Linked DNA regions of Homo sapiens: region 2 is linked to region 1. The links are contacts of gene promoters, found by promoter capture Hi-C in human tissues and cell types (Jung and others, 2019). All regions are on one chromosome and are shown on one strand. Each heading gives the region's core, a stretch centred on a gene start or on the middle of the fragment in contact. The rest is flanking DNA. Distances are from core to core; before and after follow the strand shown. Region 1 holds the start of LZTS1 (leucine zipper tumor suppressor 1). Region 2 overlaps LOC105379314 (a long non-coding RNA gene).

What was found. Contacts are between HindIII fragments. The study calls those that stand out against the background at their distance.
Region 2: a fragment that was not itself captured here is called in contact with the fragment with the promoter of LZTS1 in region 1 in 1 of the 25 tissues and cell types used here (stomach).

The regions. Positions count from the first base shown.
Region 1 is chr8:20,300,654-20,306,254 of GRCh38, forward strand. It overlaps LZTS1 (leucine zipper tumor suppressor 1), which reads right to left and starts at 3,310. Exons shown (of 4, transcript NM_021020.5): 1 at 3,087-3,310. RefSeq lists a silencer at 3,300-3,369. The HindIII fragment of the contact is 20,395 bases long and covers 1-4,684 here.
Region 2 is chr8:20,352,891-20,357,973 of GRCh38, forward strand. The region is part of intron 1 of LOC105379314 (a long non-coding RNA gene); the gene reads left to right. Among named protein-coding and RNA genes, the nearest start is that of LZTS1, 51 kb to the left of the region's middle. RefSeq lists enhancers at 166-788, 1,939-2,462. The HindIII fragment of the contact is 5,426 bases long and covers 1-4,286 here.

The DNA of each region.
Region 1 (5,601 bases), core at 2,060-4,559:
GGAACTCATGATGCAATCTCTGCTTCTAGGAGTTTTGTAGACTCCTCAGGAGCCAGTGAGTAAATGCCATAATATACTGGTATGATGGTAGGGACTCTGAGGAAGGTACCTGACTCAGAATTGAGGAAAAAACAGAGGAAACTTTCTTGGAGGAGTTGATCCCTATGGTTAAAACCCACAGTGGGGCTGGGTGTGGTGGCTCCTGCCTGTAATCCCAACACTTTGGGAGGCTGAGGCCAGCAGATCACTTGAGGTCAGGAGTTCAAGACCAGCCTGACCAGCATGACAAAACCCCATCTCTACTAAAAATATAAAAGATTAGCCAGGCGTGGTGGCAGGCGCCTATAGTCCCAGCTACTTGTGAGGGTGAGGCAGGAGAACTGCTTGAACCCAGGAGGTGGAGGTTGCGGTGAGCCAAGATCGCACCACTGCACTCCAGCCTGGGCGACAGAGCAAGACTCCGTCTCAAAAAAAAAAAAAAAAAAAAAAAAAGTGGGAGCCAGTTAAGTGGAGAAGGTAGAGAGACCAGGCAGGAATATTCCATGCAGAAGAAACAGTGTTTCTATGTTCAAAGGTAGCAGAATAACATGGACAGAGCCAGGGTCCAGAACCTTACTAAGCTGATCTCAAATCCCTGCCCCTCGGTTTTGTAGCCTGGCTAAATTACTTAACTCTCCTCATCTAATAATTATACATACCCCGCAGGGCTGCAGTGAAAATTAAATGAGATAATGAATAAAAAGTTCCAGGCACACAGTGGATTTAGTGGCTGGCATTAAGTGTTACGGTATTATCCATTACACTGGTCTATAAGGTGCTTACCCATAGGTCTGTCATCATTACATTATTCATCTTCCTAGCCTCGCTGCACAGCTCAGAGCCTTGCATTTGGTAGGCGCCCAATGAATATTTATGAAATGAACGTTGAATAAGCGCAAAGGCATATAAATAAGTTTTCAGGATTAGAAAGCCATTTATATACGTCTGGAGCCCATGTATAGCTTTGCTATACACGCTGACCCACGGCTTCTCAAAACTGAAAGGCACATCTTTCCCTCACACACTCCCAAAGCATTGGCTTTCCCCAGGGCACCCCACGCAGCAGCACTCCTTCTATGACAGCACCCCTGCCCCACATCGACCCAGGCACACACAGCTGGGGGCACCTCCTGCAGATACACAAATGCACAAGCTGAACTGCTGAGACAGGTTTACCTCGTGAAGCACACAGCCGCTGCTATAAATGTTAACTAACAACCATCTTCAGCACATCAAATGTCCCGCCCTCCCTTTTGCTTGCATATAGACACCCACAGAGATGCCCGTTCTTTTTCTACTAGTTTTCTTCTCTTCTTAAGCAGAGTGAGCGCCCCACACTCACATCCACCCAGCTGAGACCTCTTACTAGGACTCCCAGTTGCTCCATCCTATTAGCTGTGGGACCTTAGGGAAAGCCTTTCCCTTCTGACGCCTCCGTTTCTTCACTGGCAGGCACAGAGAGCCCACCGCACCAACCTGGTAGTTATGTTGTGAGGATAAAGGAGATAACGTATGAGATAACGTCTATGATGAGCAGAAAGAGCCTCCAAAGAAAAGCGCTGGATAAATACAAGGTGTAACGCCACGCCTGATTAGCCTGCATGCTCTCTGCCCACAGACTTCTACCCACAGACTATGTTCCACTCCACTCTTAAACACAAACACCTTTCCCGTCTGTACATGCTATCTCTAATACCCATATGCGCACACTCTTCGGGCACCTCCATTCTCCCTCTGGATGCCTGCAGAAAATTGTTTTTGAACTTAGAGAAAGCTCAGGTTGCAAACACCCTCTTGCCGGTACCCGCAGACTCTTCTCAGGGTCTTGGTGCAGGAACTGCCAAGCAGATAGCTCATCTCTTTGTGGCTGGGCTCCTGGGCTCCCAGCATTCCTATTAGGCTGCACTTCCAGCAGAGTGTGGGATCCTTATTAGGAGCAGCGCCTGCCCGGCATGGTCCAGAACTCAGTGCCTCCTCAGTACTTTCCCAGCGCCCGGGACCAGAGAGTAGAGGGGCTGATGGCAGCGGGACGGTGTGGAGGGAATAAGTGAGACAGGAAACACTTTAGGAGGCCAGATCCCTAAGCACTTCTTATTCCTGGGAAATTGAAGACTGCGAAGCTAACAAGTCTGGAGCACTTTCCCAGGCCTGACATACTCGTGGGCGAGCACAAGGCTCATTTGCTCCACAGTTCAAACCTTTCCACTTGGAGCACGAAAAAGAGACATCACCTGGCCCTTGGTGTCTCGGGGATGCCTGTTGCTGCCAAGCTGCGACCTCTGAAGCCCCTCCAGCCAGAGCAAAGCCTGTGGCAGGGTGGAGGGGTGAGGTCTGGCTGCCTAGGGTGGCGGTGGAAGAAGTGAAGGTAGTGTGGGGCTGTCTGTGTGTGCATGGTGCTTTGACTAAATTCCTGAATTGCACATCCAGGACCGACCCCAGGAAGCTGCAGCCCCAGGGAGCCACTTAGACACTTCGATTTACCACCTTCCTCTCTAACCACCTCCGCCCGTGTGACTTATTCCTTGAGGGAAACCTTTCAAATCTCTGGCTGCAACGCACCGGTGTCCTCCCCACCGGTGTGGACACAGCTCATCTGCAAAGTTCCAGGCGGCGAAGTTCAGCGGCCCGGACCGACCGCCGGACCCTCTTCCTGCGGCCCCTGCTCCTGCGGCCTCGCGTCCCCACCTCCCACTTCTTCACCTCCGACACCAGTGTCACCTAACACTGACGTCCCCGCCAGGATCAGCATCGGTGCTGGGAATAGACGAACCCCGTCTGCAGGAGACACGAAGACAAAGACAGGAGGACAGACGCACAGTCACCTCCTCTGGGCCGGGCCGGAGAAGCGGCGCCCACCCTGCAGAGGGGAGACCCTGACAGCTCCACGCGGAGACAAAGACACCTCGACAGCCACGGACACAGACAGACAAAGACCGACGGACGCGCGGACGCACGGACGGTCCGGCCCGGCGAGGGGAAAGCGGTTTCCCGCAGCCAGGGCAGCAGACCCTCCAGGGGCGAGGAGATCCCCGGCCACCGCACCTTACCTGCCCCCTGCGCCTCGGGCGCACTTGAGACTTTTTTTTTTTCCCAGTGTTTCCCGGTGTGTTCCCGTCTCTCTTTTTCCAGAGCTGCTGAGCGGGCCGGGCCGGTCCCACTGCGCGGGATGCAGCTCCCGGCTCCCACTCACTGGCCGAGGCGGGCAGAGAAACTTTCGGCCTCCCCGCCCGGCCGCTGCCAACCCGCCAGCTCCAGGCGCGCCGGCCTCTGCGCGGGTCCCGGAGCCGGGGCGGGGCGGGGCGGGGCGGGGCGGGGCGGGGCCGGCCCGGGGCGGGGCCAGAGCCGGCGCCGCTGATTGGCAGCGAGCTGCCGGCAGCCTGGTCTGTGCCGCTCGGCGGCCTTTGTTCCGGGCTGACAGCTGGGGCTGCTCGCGACCTCGCGGCTCCTTCGCGCCCGCGGCCTGCGCGGGGTCCCGGGTCCCGTCTCTCTGCTCTCACTTCCATCAGCCCCATTGGGCGACCCTGCCCCCTCAGTCTTCCTTTCTTGCCTGGCCCCCTTTCTCCGATTGTTCCTGTCTTGCTCTTGTCGCATCCTTTTTTCCCTTTCATTACCTGAAATTCTTACTCCAGTTTTGTTTAAAATCCATTCCTTCTCCCGTTCTGTGTATGTTCCCCTTTCTTCATTACCCCTTCCTCTTAATCGCCAGTTTATTTTTCTTAATACCGTCTCTCCCGCTCCCGACTCGCACTAAAGGGCGTGTGTTTTGTTCAAGGACTGGACTAGCACCCAAGTGAGGGGCATTGCGAACCACACCAGGATTACAGGCTAGAGTCCAGAGCACCGGGACTCCCACTCCCAAAACATGTCAAAAGCAAACTTTTCCAGCTCTGAGGGAGCTGAGTTTCAGGTGACAGCAGAGGCCTGTTTCAAGTTTATAGCTATTAGTCTCACCCAGTCCCCTTATAATACTATCATTTTCTCAACCACCCTCACTTTTAACTTCTAGCAACTGAGCCAGGAGAGGATTCAAGCTTACAAGGTTTTGTAGGACAAAGGGTCAGTTAACCGGAGTGCTAGGTGCAGCATGAGGCTTGGGGGCTTGAGGGTGCACTGAGGCTAATCCTCTAAAACCAGGCTTGGCGGGAAGATGGCAGCTCTGCCCAAGGAGTGTTAGCCTCATCTTGAAAGAAGCCTGTGTGTGTGTGTGTGTGTGTGTGTGTGTGTGTGTGTGTGTGTTGGGGGGTGGGGGATAGATGTAATGGATTAGGATTGACATAGCCGATCTGATTATAAATAGCATGGGGGCCGGACGCGGTGGCTCATGCCTGTAATCTCAGCACTTTGGGAGGCCGAGGTTGGTGGATCACTTGAGGTCAGGAGTTGAAGACCAGCCTGGCCAACATGGTGAAACCCCGTCTCTACTAAAAAAAAAAAAAAAAAAAAATACAAAAATTAGCTGGGTGTGGTGGCAGGAGCCTGTAATCCCAGCTACTTGGGAGGCTGAGGCTTGGGAATTGCTTGAGCCTGGAAGGCAGAGGTTGCAGTGAGCCAAGATAGTGCCACTGCACTCCAGCCTGGGTGACAGAGTGACACCGTGTCTCAAAATAAATAAATAAATAAATAAATACAAAAAAATTAAATAGAATTGTGGTGGCAGGGGGGACAGCTCAAAGGAAAACAAGCCATATGGTTTCTGCCACACCCCTGCTCAAAACCCTGTAGGGGAATCTCACTGCCTTCGGTTGTTGACCCTGAAGACTCTGACCTTCGAATCTAGGCTTCCTGAAAGATGGCACCGCGAGGGTTTAAGAACACAGACAGGCTTCGCTGCTTGTTATTTGAGCCATTACCTTCCCCTCCCTCTTTCTCAGTTTTTCTTTTTCTTTCTTTCTTTTTTTATTTGTGAAATGAGGTAACAAGTCCCAGTGTAAATTCCCTGAAGGCAGGAACTTGTTCTCTTTTATTGGTGGCTGAGGGACTTGGTCTGTTTTATTCATAGATGTATCCCCGACACCTAGAACTTGCCAGGCAACATAGTAGGCACTCAATATGTATTTGTTAAATGAATGAATTTCTCATGTATAGGTTTGTTCTGATGATTAAATGAAACCCACTGCCTTGCGGTAAGTACATACACGTGGCAGTAATTACAAGCAATACGACAATTTCTAAGTGTCAACCCCAAAGGCTACTCAGCCTTTTCCTGAACATCACCTCCTTTTCCCCACCTTTGTATAAACCTGCCCCTCAGTCTGAAAAGCTTTTCTCCTGCTCTTCTAACTCTACCTCTCAAAATCTGAGACAAAATATGGAACCCTTACTCACACCTTCTCTTATCGTCCAGGGCAAAATAATGTCTTCTTTTTCTAAAGCGCCATGCTTCTTTGTGTTGCATTTATTGACAGAGAACATGTATTCTTGCTTGCTGGTGAGAGTATCTCAAGAATTTTAGCTGAATGAGTTAATATCGATCAAACATTCCAGCGCTTTAAGGAAAGAGCAGACTCCTGGAAGGTAGATTAAGGTATGAGGTGGGCTCCAGACTTCAAACTCATTTTCACA
Region 2 (5,083 bases), core at 324-2,823, 51 kb after region 1:
AATTCACGCCTTGTCTTGCCCTTGCCATCTCATTTCCAGGACAGCTGCTGGGGACTCTGGAGTGCTCTCTGTCTCCTTCTGCTTGGGCACACAGGCTTCTCCTTCTGCATGGGCAACACCCAGGCCCACCTAAAACTCCAGTTTTGGATCCCAGTTTCTTTCTCAGATGCCAAATATTTGGGAGCAGTGCTTTTCATTGTGTGCCTGATCCTGGAGCCTGAATCTCCACCTTGTTCCCTGATAGTGGGCAAAGGGATGCTTTTTTCCTGATGCAAGATGCAGTATTAGAGCCCTGCCAAAATCATGGGCTCAATTTCCCCCCTCCCACTCCCCTTCTGTACTCCTTTTGAACCAGATCGAGTTCAATTAAAAGAAAAAAGAAGCATGTTAACCCAATTCACATCCCTCACATTAAGGTGCTAATAACTTGGAGTTAAACCTCCTGGGGAACATTTGCATTTTAATAGAGTGTGCTTAGGACCATTCATGCTCTGGTGGGGGGACGTGTTTTGAACTGGGAGCCTGGAGATTTGGATTTAGTCCCCAAGCTACAATTAGCCCTTTGCCCTTGGGTAAGTGATCTCTCTCTCTCTTTGTCTGCTTAGACTCTCCAACTGGTCCCTAAATTTAAAATTTTGGACTAGATAATTTATCCCACATACACTTTATAACAATTTTATGAGACAGGTACTATTCATGGCACCATTTTACAGATGAGAAAACTGACGCCCAGGGAAGTCAATAAGTGTCTTACTGAAGGTCAGTCGCTACTGTGGAGCAGAACCAGGATTCAAACCCAGGCAGTACGATGCAAGCATCTTACCCACCTCACACCGTTCAGCCCCTCCCTGTCACATTTTCCCAAAATAAATAATCCTGTGTCATCATGAGGAAGAGCTTTGGGATGGGGTGGGGTGAGGGCCGAGGGAAAAGTTTGCTGGGGACCCATCACGGGGCATCACCTCCTCCTTTTCCTTTTCCTCTCTCCTGTCCCCACCCACTGGCCACACAAGCTAGAGCTGGGCCATTTGCTAGACAGAGGGGGTGGTGTTTACAGTTTCGTGAAAGGCAATCGCTAACCCTCTTGACCAACCATCACACCCTGTTGAATGTAACAGGTAACATCCTGCACACACATTCAGATCTGAGTACTTGACAGCAACTGTTTTTAATTTGCAGATGATAGTTGGTTTCATGAAAACAAAGATCTTCCTGCAAATCTTGTAGGTTAAAACTAAATAATTAACTGCATGAAAGTGAAGTACTCAAAATACAATTGGACATCAGATATGCTGATGAAAAGAAACTGAGAAGTGCACCCAGCAGAGCCAGCTGCCCTGCCCTCTCCACAGGGGCCTGGGGATGGGAATCCTACCCTCAGTGGGATATGGTGCTGGAGCTGTGGGTTGGAGCGATGTTCATGGGAAGAACATGTTGGCAGGGATAGTGGTAAGGGGAGTGAAGGGAAGAGAGAAATTCAGTTTCCTGGAAGATTTGTGACCAGTTCGTTGAGATGGCATTTCCATGGAATTCAGGAGACTGCATGGAACATAGATTTAAATTCAGAAGCTGGGAGTATATCCTGAGGACAGACACAAAGAAACCCCATGGTCCGAAGACCTACCAGAGAACATGCAGTTCAACAGGAATGAAAAGAAAAACAAATGTAAAAGTCGTCTCCTCTGTATAGATCTCTTAAGATGGAAGTGCCAGCAGCTACAGATCCTTCCAAGGTGCCAGGCAGTGCTCTAAGTGGATGTCACTGAAGTCCTGTAGCCAGGAGCTATTCGTATTACTGTCCCTACTTTGCGGAGGACTCACAGCACGCATGTTAAGACACTTTCTTTTGGTCATAGCTGGAGCCCATATTTGAAGCGGATGAGCTGGTTTAGGGGCCGTACTCAGCTGGTTGAGTGTCATAGAGGAAAGGACAGTGGGTACCAGAGGGATTTTCCTCAGTCCAGACACCTGAGTCCAGTCCCTGGGGACTTCAGGCTGGGTTATTTTGTCCTTAGTCTAATCTTGGAGGAGCAGGCACCCCTGCGGATGGGGCAGGGAGGAACATGGGTCACAGGTGCTCTGTGTGTAGACTTCATCTACTCTGCCTGCTTGCTGCCCCTCCTCAGGCACCTGGGCCTCCTGGGTGTCAGGAACCTCTCAGTGATCTCCTGGCAAATTGTTTCTTATCTGTCTGGCATTCCTCTCAGCAGGCCTTGAGTTGTAAGACTTGTCACCTGATAAATTAATTGCCCTTCCTCCAGACGTTCTTTTGTGTGTGTGTGTGTGTGTGTGTGTGTGTGTGTGTGTGTGTGATGATTTTCATTTCTTTTTTTTTTTAATTATACTTGAATTCTGGGATACATGTGCAGAACATGCAGGTTTGTTAAATAGGTATACGTGTGCCATGGTGGTTTGCTGCACCCATCAACCTGTCATCTACATTTGGTATTTCTCCTAATGCTATCCCACCCCTTGCCACCCATTGCCTGACAGGCCGCAGTGTATGATGTTCCCCTCCCTGCGCTCATATGTTCTCATTGTACAACTCCCACTTATGAGTGAGAACATGCGGTGTTTGGTTTTCTGTTCCTGTGTTAGTTTGCTGAGAATGATGGTTTCCAGCTTCGTCCATGTCCCTGCAAAGGACATGAACTCATTCTTGTCCCTGCAAAGGACATGAACTCATTCTTTACGGCTGCATAGTATTCCATGGTGTATATGTGCCACATTTTCTTTATCCAGTCTGTTATTGATGGGCATTTGGGTTGGTTCTAAGTCTTTGCTATTGTGAATACTGCTGCAATAAACATACGTGTGCATGTGTCTTTATAGTAGAATGATTTATAATTCTTTGGGTATATACCCAGTAATGGGATTGTGAGATCAGATGGTATTTCTGGTTCTAGATCCTTGAGGAATCACCACACTGTCTTCCACAATGGTTGAATTAATTTACATTCCCACCAACAGTGTGAAAACGTTCCTATTTCTCCCCATTCTCTCCGGCATCTGTTGTTTCCTGACTTTTTAATGATCACCATTCTAACTGGCGTGATGGTATCTCATTGTGGTTTTGATTTGCATTTCTCTGAAAACCAGTGATGATGATGAGCTTTTTTTCCCATATGTTTGTTGGCTGCATAAATGTCTTCTTTTGAAAAGTGTCAGGTGTAATTAACATATTTAGGTGTAATTAACATGTTTAAAGTGTGTTCCTCCATATGTTTTGACACATGCATACACCTGTGAAACCATCACCACAATCACAACTGTGACCATGTCCATCACCGCCAAAGCTTCGTCATTCAGTTTGGTGACCCTCTGCCCATCCCTCCTACATCCTCCTCCCCAGGTGACCACCCACCTGCTTTCTGTCTCTCTAGATTGGTTGGCAGTTTCTAGGATGTACATATAGGAAATCATACATGCCTGGCATGGTGATTCATGCCTGTAATCCCAGCACTTTGGGAGGCCAAGGTGGAAGGATTCCTTGAGGCTAGGAATTCAAGACCAGCTTGGGCAACATAGAGAGACCTGATCTCTACAAAAATAAATAAAACATTAACTGGGCATGGTGGTGCACACCTATAGTCCTAGCTACTTGGGAGGCTGAGGCAGGAGGATTGCTGGAGCCTAGGAATTTAAGGCTGCAGTGAGCTATGATTGTGCCATTGCAGTCCAGCCTGGATGACAGAGTAAGACCCTATCTCTAAAAACAAACAAAGAAACAAACAAAAACAAAGCAAAACAAAAAAAGAAATAGAATTATAGGGTATGTAGGTTTTTTTTGGTCAGCTTCCCTCACTCAGTATATTACTTTGATAGTTCAAATATTTTAGTTTTAGAAAACAATTTTCTATTTATAATAAAAAGTGAAAGTAAACAATGTATCCATTTAATTGGTAAAAAATTTCATGTCCGTTAAATTTGTGTCTGTATCATCCTTACTGTGATTGCTACTGGCAAAGAACAGCACATCCCTTTGAGATCCATCCAAATTGTGGTGTGCATGCGTAGTTCATTCCTTGTGATTGCTGAGTGTATTAGTCTATTCTTGCATTGGTATAAAGAACTACCTGGGACTGGGTAATTTATAAAGAAAAGAGGTTTAATTGACTCACAGATCCACATGGCTGGGAAGGCCTCAGGAAACTTACAATCGTGGTGGAAGGTGAAGGTGAAGCAGGCACCTTTTACATGGCCAGAGAAGGAGGAAGAGAGAGAGAAGGGGGAGGTGCTACTCACTTTTAAACAACCAGATCTCATGAGAACTCACTATAATGAGAACAGCAAGGGAGAAATCCACCCCCATGACCTAGTCACCTCCTATCAGGCCCCTCCTCCAACATTGGGGATTGCAATTTAACATGAGATTTGGGTGGGGACACAAAACCAAAGCTATCACTGAGGATTGTTCCACTGCATGGATGCTCTACCCAGTCACACCATCCAGGCCCAATCCAGCCATGTCTGGAGACTGACACCAATCTGTATCTGCAGTGCTCCAGTCGGCTCATTCTCACCAGGAACTGTTCATTGCAGGGAGAAAGGCCTAGCCAAATTTCCTTATTCACCATCAGAGAAATCAAATGTCAGAGCTGGAAAGATCCTTGATACCAGTGGGTCCCTGTTTGGGGTTGAATTGTGTCCCTTTCAAATCTATGTGTTTTAATTCCTAGTACCTCAGAATGTGACTGTATTTGGATACTGGACCTTTAAGTAGGTAATTAAGTTAAAATGTGATCAGCAGGGCAGGCCCTAATTCAAGATGCCTGATGCCCTTCTAAGAAGCGGAGATTAGGGTAAGGATACACACCAGAGGGAAGACTATGGGAAGGCAAAGGGAGAAGACGGCCATCTATAAGCCAAGGAGGGAGAGACCTCAGAAGAAACCAATCCTGCTAACACCTCAATCTTGGACTTCCAGCCTCCAGAATTGTGAGAGCGTCCATTCTGTTGTTGAAGGCACCCAGTCAAATGCTTTTTTATGGCATCCCAAGCAGACTAATGCAGCCCTGTATTACCCATTCAGTCCAACAAGCATTTGCTGAATGCTTTCTACATGACAGGCTGGGTCAGGGAT